3 separate regions of the Homo sapiens genome follow, and regions 2 and 3 are each linked to region 1. Evidence: promoter capture Hi-C in human tissues and cell types (Jung and others, 2019). All regions are on one chromosome and are shown on one strand. Each heading gives the region's core, a stretch centred on a gene start or on the middle of the fragment in contact. The rest is flanking DNA. Distances are from core to core; before and after follow the strand shown.

Evidence for each region. The method cuts DNA at HindIII sites, captures the fragments that hold promoters and counts their contacts. A contact is called where the count stands out against the background at its distance.
Region 2: a fragment that was not itself captured here is called in contact with the fragment with the promoter of MEI1 in region 1 in 1 of the 25 tissues and cell types used here (spleen).
Region 3: a contact is called between a fragment that was not itself captured here and the fragment with the promoter of MEI1 in region 1, in 1 of the 25 tissues and cell types used here (dorsolateral prefrontal cortex).

The regions. Positions count from the first base shown.
Region 1 is chr22:41,698,085-41,701,263 of GRCh38, forward strand. MEI1 (meiotic double-stranded break formation protein 1) reads left to right here and starts at 1,419. Exons shown (of 31, transcript NM_152513.4): 1 at 1,419-1,628. The coding sequence starts at 1,455. It also overlaps the pseudogene C22orf46P. RefSeq lists a silencer at 1,392-1,491. The HindIII fragment of the contact is 9,130 bases long and covers 307-3,179 here.
Region 2 is chr22:42,434,156-42,437,345 of GRCh38, forward strand. It overlaps a transcript of NFAM1 not described here. Among named protein-coding and RNA genes, the nearest start is that of NFAM1, 3.3 kb to the left of the region's middle. The HindIII fragment of the contact is 3,004 bases long and covers 1-2,892 here.
Region 3 is chr22:42,607,725-42,610,615 of GRCh38, forward strand. The region is part of intron 1 of POLDIP3 (DNA polymerase delta interacting protein 3); the gene reads right to left. LOC124905127 (a long non-coding RNA gene) reads right to left here. Exons shown (of 2, transcript XR_007068118.1): 2 at 1,011-1,238. Among named protein-coding and RNA genes, the nearest start is that of POLDIP3, 5.7 kb to the right of the region's middle. The HindIII fragment of the contact is 5,591 bases long and covers 1-2,891 here.

The sequences.
Region 1 (3,179 bases), core at 169-2,668:
TTTGAGAGTGTCCTGATCCCTGCAAAGCCTCTAATAAATTGGTCATTTGGGCCCTGTGGTGTTCTGATTTCTCTGGCACATTTTCCAAGTGCCCCCTTTCGGGGTTTGGGATACTTTGTGGGTGGGGTAGAAGCCCCTTCCACTCTGTGGTTGTGGTTTAGGGAATGTGGGTCAACCCAGTGTCCTCTCCGAAACACCTGCCCCCCAGCTCCTCACAGTGGAGTCCACTGAGGTTCTATCCTGCTCTGTCTCCAAGCTAATCCTGATTGAGGCAGGACACTCCAAAAGCCTCAGCTGCTTATGGGGAGGGGTGGTCCTCTGCATGGGACGCTTTTTTTTTTTTTTTTGAGATGGAGTGTAGGTCTGTGGCCCAAGCTGGAGTTCAGTGGCTTGATCTCCGCTCACTGTAACCTCCGCCTCCTGGGTTCAAGCGATTCTGCTGCCTCAGCCTCCCGAGTAGCTGGGATTACAGTCATGAGCCACCACACCCAGCTAATTTTTGTATTTTTAGTAGAGGAGGGGTTTCGCCCTGTTGCTCAGGCTGGTCTTGAACTTCTTTCTCTCTGTCTTTGGTGTTTTGTTTTGTTTTTTTACTTTTATTTTTTGGTCTTAAGCTTCTGATTTATTTATTTATTTTTAAGATGGAGTCTTCCTCTGTCACCCAGGCTGGAGTGCAGTGGTGCGATCTTGGCTCACTGCAACCTCCACCTCCCAGGTTCAAGTGATTCTCCTGCCTCAGCCTCCCTCCCAAAGTGCTGTGATTACAGGCATGAGCCAACTCACCCAGCCTCTAATTGCTTTTAGATGCGAATCCTTGGGATCGCTTATTTTCCTTTTTTTTTTTTTTTTTGAGATAGAGTCTTGCTCTGTCGCCAGGCTGGAGTGCAGTGGCACAATCTCAGCTCACTGCAACCTCCGCCTCCCAGGTTCAAGTGATTCCCCTGCCTCAAGCCTCCCAAGTAGCTGGGATTACAGGCACTTGCCACCACACCCAGCTAATTTTTTGTATTTTAGTAGAGACGGGGTTTCACCATGTTGGGTAAGATGGTCTTGATCTCCAGATCTCGTGATCCGCCCACCTCGGCTTCCCAAAGTGCTGGGATTACAGGCGTGAGCCACCATGCCCGGCCTTCATTTTTAAAAAACAGTAGAAATAGCTTCCTTTCCTTCCTTTTTCAAGGCAAATGCCCCCTACTTTATAATTGCTTTTCAACTTTGGATGTGGTAAAGACATTCCTGCAGGGTTCTAAGCACAAACCGCTTTTGGCTTAGCTAGACACGATCCAGAGCACTTGCGTCCACCACTTGCCCTCAGTGGCTGCTGCTCGTCTGAGACTGCAGCGCCCTGGGTCCGCGCAGGCGCATTCCACACCGACGCAGGTCCGTCCTCCAAGTGCGCATGCGTGCAGTCTGCGCGGGAAAGAGTGCCGCCTCAGCTGAGGGCAAGCGAGGAGATGGCTGTGAGGCAGGCGGCGACGGCGGGCACTCCCGGGCCCAGGAGAGAGGAAGAGGCGGCGCTTCTATTCGAGAGGGCCCATTACCGGCACGACCCGCGCTGGCTGCTGCCCGTGACCCCCCGCCTGTGCCTGGCCTGCGCGCTGGAGCTGCTGCCGGACCCCGGCGTGTCGGTGCGGGCGGAACCTTTTCTTCAGAAGACCTGGGTTTGGCCATTTCCCTCAGCAAACGCGGCCAGGCCCTTGCCAGACCCGCTCCGGTGAACCCGACGCGAAACCGGGCCCCCGCGCTGTGTTCACTCTCCTCCCTGTCAGCCCGTCCCGGACCCGGCCGCAGCGGCCTCTCGGGCCCCTCAGCCCCAGGCCGGCCTGCGGGCCTCCGTGGAGCCCGGTCCACTGGCTCTGCGCCTGAAAGGACGGAAATCCGGATCCCCCGGGACCTCACCCAGTCTCAGGGACACACCTTCCCGCCTTCCGCCTTCTGGCTCCTTCCCTTTGCTGCCCCTGCCTCCATTTCCCGGGGATTCGGCCTTAGCTCAGGCTCCCGCCATTTCAGCCTCCCGCCATTTCAGCCTCCACTCACCTGCGGGCCAGGGGCGCATGCGGCGGCCGCTCCTCATTCCCTTCAGCTGTCGGGGTGTGAATCGGAGGAGGGGCAGTCTGGGCTCCGAGGGGACAGGAGTGACAGGTTACAGCCGGGCAGAAGTGGGGGTGAACGGGAAGACTGTTCCTTGGGCAGAGCTGGCCAAAGCGGGCTGCCTGGGTCCTCATTGCCTACCGCGTTTGCAATGAAGTGGTTTTGTTTGTTTCGAGACGGAGTCTCGCTCTGACACCCAGGCCGGAGTGCAATGGCGCCATCTCCGCTCACTGCAACCTCTGTTTCCTGGGTTCAAGCGATTCTCCTGCCTCAACCTACCCAGTAGCTGGGATTACAGGCTCCCGCCACCACGCTCGGCTAATTTCTCTATTTTTAGTAGAGACGGAGTTTCATCATGTTGGCCAGGCTGGTCTCGAACTCTTGACCTCAGGTGATCCACCCGCCTCGGCTTCCCATAGTGCTGGGATTATAGGCGTGAGCCACGGTGCCCGACCTGCAGTGAGTTTTCTTGTCCATGGAGGCATCCAAGAAGACTTTGGGAGGTCAAGTTTCTCTCCAATTCATGGGAGGGGAATTCGTGAGTGGGTGGATTGGCTAGATCAGCAGTTCTCAATTTTTTTTTTTTTTTTTTTTTTTTTTGTAGAAACGGTCCCGGGGGTCTCCCTGTGTTGCCCAGGCTGGTCTTGAACTCCTAGTCTCAAGCAATTCTCCTGCCTTGACCTCCCAAAGTCCAAAGTGTTGGGATTGCATCTGTGAGCCACCGTGCCTGGCTGCGTTCTCAAATATTTTGATTTCTTTCTTTCTTTTTTTTTTTTTTTTTGAGATGGAGTTTCACTCTTGTTGCCCAGGCTGGAGTGCAATGGCGCAATCTCAGCTCACCGCAACCTCCGCCTCCCGGGTTCAAGCGATTCTCCTGCCTCAGCCTTCCGAGTAGCTGGGATTACATGCATGCGTCACTACGCCCAGCTAATTTTGTATTTTTAGTATAGACGGGGTTTCTCCATGTTGGTCAGGTTGGTGTTGAACTCCCAACCTCAGGTGATCTGCCTGCCTCAGCCTCCCAAAGTGTTGGGATTAAAGACGTGAGCCACCACACCCGGCCAAACAGCTGGATTTTTATCTATTTC
Region 2 (3,190 bases), core at 141-2,640, 740 kb after region 1:
TCTAGCCTGCTGCACACCTGGTTTCCACGCTTGCCTGCCTGAGCTGCCTGTCTTCCTCCCCTCTCCTTCTTGAGCCTGGCCCAGGGGGTGCAGGAATGGACGGATGGGTGAGCATAAGGCAGGGAGAAGCCTTCCTCCAGGCTTGATATGAAGGCAGGTGCCCAACACCACGCTGGTGCACAAGAGGCCTCAAGGGAAGGGGTAGCCTCTGGGAGGCAGGGTGGGAGGAGGCGTGCATACTCCCCAGGCAGGCCCTGGGCTGTGGAGCGCAGACATGACTGGACAAGAAGCAGCTGAGGGTCCCAGCTCATTGCCCAGTTTCTGAGACGCTCTGCAGCCACGCAGCCTCCTGGGGAGAGGCAGGGACGCACCTTGGCAAGGAGCCCAGCAGCCCTGGCTGCGCTGTCGGGGCCTCGTGTCTGGCCCTGATCCTCCTCGGGAGCCAGGGGGATAGAAATAAAACCGCAGCGCATCCAGGAGCCTCATTTCTACCAAAACTTTCTAGCACCTCTCATGTGCTTCCTCTCCTGTGCCCTCAGCCAGAGCTGTGAATAAACAGTAAAGGCCCCAAAGGCTGAAGGCGGAGCAGAGGAATGAGGAGGCTCTGTGGGTGTCCCAGGGGCAGCTTCAGTGGCACAGCCTTCGAGCTAGGCCTTGGCAGCTGAATTTGCAGGTGAGGTCCCTGGGGACCACACGTCTCAGCCACTGGCTTTTGCCCAGACCTCCGTCCATTCCCCGTTTATCCGTGCATCTATGCCTCACAGTATACTGAACACCTGCCCTGCCCTGGGCCCTGGCCTCACGGAGGCTGTAGAAGTGAAAGAGCCTAGCCTCCCTGGGAAGCCTAGGGGCACGGCAACCTCAGCAGAGTGAAGCAATAATAGAGCAGTTCCGGGAAGCTTCCAAGCGCCTGACACTGCTCCAGGGGACCTGCTCTCCTTGCCAGTTTAATCCTCACTGCAGCCCTATGGGGCAGGCACTCTAATCACCTCCATTGTACAGATGAGGAAACTGAGGAACAGGGAGGTTAAAGTAATTTCTGAGTGGCAGCCCTGAAGGAGGTGGAAGCTGGGTGGGGAAATGGGGGAGCCCAGGTGTCCCCTGCAGTCCCCAGGGGCCTCCTCGACACCAAGACTAAGGCTTTCCAAATGAGACCACAATTACTGGCCTCTGTTTTCTTTTTCTTTTCTTTCTTTTTTTTTTTTTTTTGAGACAGAATTTTTCTCTTGTTGCCCAGGCTGGAGTGCAATGGCGCGATCTCGGCTCACCGTAAACTCTGCCTCCCGGGTTCAAGTGATTCTCCTGCCTCAGCCTCCCGAGTAGCTGGGATTACAGGCATGTGCCACCACGCCCGGCTAATTTTGTATTTTTAGTAGAGATGGCATTTCTTCATGTTGGTCAGGCTGGTCTCGAACTCCCAACCTCAGGTGATCCGCCCACCTCAGCCTCCCAAAGTGCTGCGATTATAGGTGTGAGCCACTTTGCCCAGCTGGTCTCTGTTTTCAGTTTAGTTCCACAAACACTTATTATGTGCCTACTGCGTGCCAGGCATTGGGCAGACAAAACATAAGTCATGGTTTTGCCCTCAAGGCGCTCCCTGTCCAGGGAGAAAAACAGATCCCCTACCCACGACCACCTCCAAGATTTCCTTTTCTTCTTCTTTTTTTTTTTTTTTTTTTTTGAGACAGGCTCAAAAAAGACTCCACTAGGCTGGAGTGCAGTGGCATGATCTCAGCTCACTGAAATCTCTGCCTTGCGGGTTCAAGTGATTCTCCCGCCTCAGCCTTCCGAGTAGTTGGGATTACAGGCGCCTGCCACCACACCTGGCTAATTTTTGTATTTTTAGTAGAGATAGGGTTTTACCATGTTGGCCAGGCTGGTCTCGAACTCCTGACCTCAGGTGATCTGCCCGCCTTGGCCTCCCGAAGTGCTGGGACTACAGGCGTGAGCCACCGCACCCGGCCTCAATCCAGGATTTTCAAATGCCCCAGCCAGCAAGTGGCAGCTGAGAGGCCTCCAGCCGGGACACAGTGAGGTCCTGAGCTCTTCATGGTTCCTTTCTGCACAGGAAGCAGAAGTGCCGTGGGAAGGAGATCCCTCTGCTCCCCGCTGCGGCTGCGAAAATCACTTCCTTCCTCCCCAAAGACTCCAGCACCAAGAGGAGCTGAGCCGACCAGCAGGAGGGACCCCTCAGAATGACCCTCTGAGCTGGCTTCACTGAGGCAAAAAGGGTTCCAGGGTACTCAGGGGCCGATCCACCCTCTCTCTCAAACACCCTCACTATCAAAAAGGGCAGCCTCCATCCTAGGAGCAGCCGGGTTTACCTCTGGGGCCGTCTTGTGCCTCGCAGTGGCCCTGCAGCTGGGTGGTGCTGACCCCACCAGAGGCAGGCAGACCCACCTGGAGGCCATCTGCCCGCAGGCTGCCCGGGCTGGAAGCCTGGCCTGGCTTGTCTCCAGAATCCCCTCTCAGTTCCAGCTGCTTGTATTTTTGGCTCTTAAGCATTTGTTTGATGCCAGACACAGTTCTAAAGGCTTTTCTTGTACTTCAGCCCTCATAGAAACCTTGTATGGGAGGTGTTATGACTGCTCCTGCTTCGCAGATGAGGAAACTGGAGTTCAGAGAACACAAGCCACTTGCCCAAGGCCACACAGCGAAGACGCAGTGGAACAAGGGCTCCAGCTCCCGGGACCTGGCTTTAACCACTGCGCTCTCCTGCAATTCACCTGGTCCTTTAATCAGGGCAGATATTATACGCCTCAGCTGACATATTTAGTGAGGGAGAAAAACAGTGACTCACCTGCTTGAGGTCACAGAGGGGACCCGGGCTTTTCTACTGGACACATACCATGGTCCCCCTGCTATGCTCAGTTTCTGGGAGGCAGCAAGGAGCTAGTGCCAACTCCCCAACCCCGCCACACCAAAAGGAATCTTCAAGATCTGGAAGAAACAAAAAACAAAGGTGGCATGATTTTTTCTTTTTGTCTTTTTTTTTTTTTTTTTCTGAGATGGAGTCTCGCTCCGTCACCCAGGCTGGAGTGCAGTGGTGCGATCTTGGCTCACTGCAACCTCCTCCTCCCAGGTTCAAGTGATTCTCCTGTCTCAGCCTCCCAAGCAGCTGGGATTAAAGGCACCCACCACCACACCCGGCTATGTTTGTATTTTTTAGTAGAGACGGGGTTTTACCATG
Region 3 (2,891 bases), core at 186-2,685, 910 kb after region 1:
GTCTGGGATGTGAGGAGCGCCTCTGCCCGGCCGCGACCCCATCTGGGAACTGAGGAGTGTCTCTGCCCGACCGCCACCCCGTCTGGGAGGTGAGGAGCTTCTCTGCCCGGCCACCCCGTCTGGGAAGTGAGGAGCCCCTCCGCCCAGCAGCCGCCCCGTCTGGGAAGTGAGGAGCGTCTCCGCCCGGCAGCCGCCCCGTCTGGGAGGGAGGTGGGGGGCAGCCCCCGCACAGCCAGCCGCCCTGTTCGGGAGGTGGGGGGCGCCTCCACCCAGCCACCACCCCGTCTGGGAAGTGAGGAGCCCCTCTGCCCGGCCGCCACCCCGTCTGGGAGGTGTACCCAACAGCTCATTGAGAACGGGCCATGAAGACGATGGCGGTTTTGTCGAATAGAAAAGGGGGAAATGTGGGGAAAAGAGAGATCAGATTGTTACTGTGTCTGTGTAGAAAGAAGTAGACGTGGGAGACTTCATTTTGTTCTGTACTAAGAAAAATTCTTCTGCCTTGGGATGCTGTTAATCTATAACCTTACCCCCCCCCCCAAAAAAAAATTAGCTGCAAGTGATGATGCACATCTGTAGTCCCAGCTACTCAGAAGGCCAAGGCAGGAGGATCAACTAAGCCCAGGAGGTCCAGGCTGCAGTGAGCCAAGATCACACCACTGGACTCCAGCCTGGGAGACAGAACAAGACCCTGTCTCAAAAATCAAAACAAAACAAAACAAAAAAAAACCACCACCACCAAAACAAAAAGAAACAATCTTCCTTATCATTATTGTCTGGTATTTCAGTTTCAATATGTTGTTAAACCCTTAAAAATTTATACATATATATAAAGGAAGGATAAACAGTCCGCAGGCTGAAGAAATCTTAGGACTCCGGTCATGCCCAGGGATACGGAGCACTCTCTAGCGACCAAAGGGTGAGCACAAGCAGCGAGGCGAGCGGGTGGTGCACGCACTGAGAACTCGCATACCACAATGCCTGCCTGGCAGGAAGGACCACCAAGATGCTTTGTGCTGGCATTTTTATCTATTTGAACAGCCTAAAAGGCACATTTAGGGGTGGGAGTTAACGGTAGTTGAGGATGTAGTAGGAGCTCCTCACGGTGGGAGGGAGTAAGCTATTTCCCTCAATCTGATGCACTCAGTTCCCTGGTTCCACCAGTGCTTTCAACTTCTTTCGTGAACAGCTTGAGGGGGCTTCAGTGTTCAGGCTTTTTATAATCACAGCTGCTCTTCCTGCATGAAAAGACAGCTATTCATCCCAGCAGGCAGCAGTACTGGTTTCAGGCAGGCATTAGTCATCGGAAATTTTTCAAATCAACACTCCTGCCAGGGGTAGGTCTCTAAAACACAGACTCAATTATGTTACCCTCCCGCTTCTAGAACTGCTGGGGGCTCCTTTACAAAGCCCAACCCCTGGGGGGGCCTCGGCTCTGGCTCCAGCTTATGGCTGCAGCCTTACTCCCCACTGCAGTGACTACTGACGTTCCCAAAACACATCCTGCACTTTTATCCTCAGTAAATGTTTGGGAGGGCGAAGGAGGAAGGTTTTGACTGAGTCTCGTAATGCCCCACCTCCATCGCACCGAAACTACAGCTCTGCAACTGCTTCCAGGGCTTCACCAGGTATTCCGCGAGGTCCTGGCAAGAGCGCTGCTGGCAGGTGAGAAGGCAAACGTTCCCTGGACCCCAAATTCTCTCCTCTATACCCCCTACGGGAACCTGGCATAGGTGTGATGACCAGGGAGGGTCTGTCTGGGCTATAGGAATATTTCACCCTCCTGGCTCTGTCTGGGGAGGGCAGGGCTACAGCCCATTCTGGACAGATGTCCAGTCCAAAAGATTCAGGCCCATGAAGTGGGGCCCTGGATTATTATAAAGCAGATTTTAACCCATGGGTTTAAAATCCTCTGGGTTATGGGAGGCAGAGGTTGCCATGAGCCAAGATCGCACCACTGCACTCCAGCCTGGGTGACAGAGCAAGATTCCGTCTTATAAAAACAAACAAAAAAAGCTTCTGGGTTAGGGGGTGTTCGTTTAGGTGTGTGTTTAGGTCATTTTTATAGAGAGAAAACAGCTTAATTCTAACTATGACTGAGGGTCAACTCTGAATTAGGTGTTTAAGAGACACAAAGAAAAACAAGACACTAAAATACTATCCCCTGCTGGGCGAGGTGGCTCACGCCTGTAATCCCAAGCACTTTGGGAGGCTGAGATGGGCGGATCACTTGAGGTCAGGAGTTTGAGACCAGCCTGGCCAACATGGTGAAACCCTGTCTCTACTAAAAATACAAAAAATTAGCCGGGCGTAGTGGCCCATGCCTGTAGTCCCAGCTACTCAGGAGGCTGAGGCAGGAGAATCGTTTGAATCCAGGAGGTGGAGGTTTCGGTGAGCTGAGATCGCGCCATTGCACTCCAGCCTGGGCAGCAAGAGCAAAACTCTGTCTCAAAAATAAATAAATAAAATAAAATACTATCCCCTTACCCAAGAGTCTTGTGCAGATGTTTCATTTTAAAACATAATTCGTTCCCTAGAGTTATGTAATAACTCATTTCCTCCCTTTTGTGTTTAGGTCTTTATTTCCTTTATCTTATTTCAACAAGGAAACAAGCAGTCAGTACCAGGACCAGAGTCCTGGGCTGAACTGCAAAGTTTACAATCCACCCTGTCCCCCAACAACCTCCCACTTCCAGCTCCAAGGACTCCCCAGATGAGGCGTCTGGCCCAGAGAGCTGCTCAACTCCAGCCTCCAGCACATTCAAGGCTGCCACACTGAACTGCTTGGAGGCAGCTGACAGAAAGCTATCCGCTGAGGGTTAAACTCATCGAACTAACAAAAGCGGACATGTCAACTGACTTAACTGGGGATGCCCTCATATCTAAAGGAA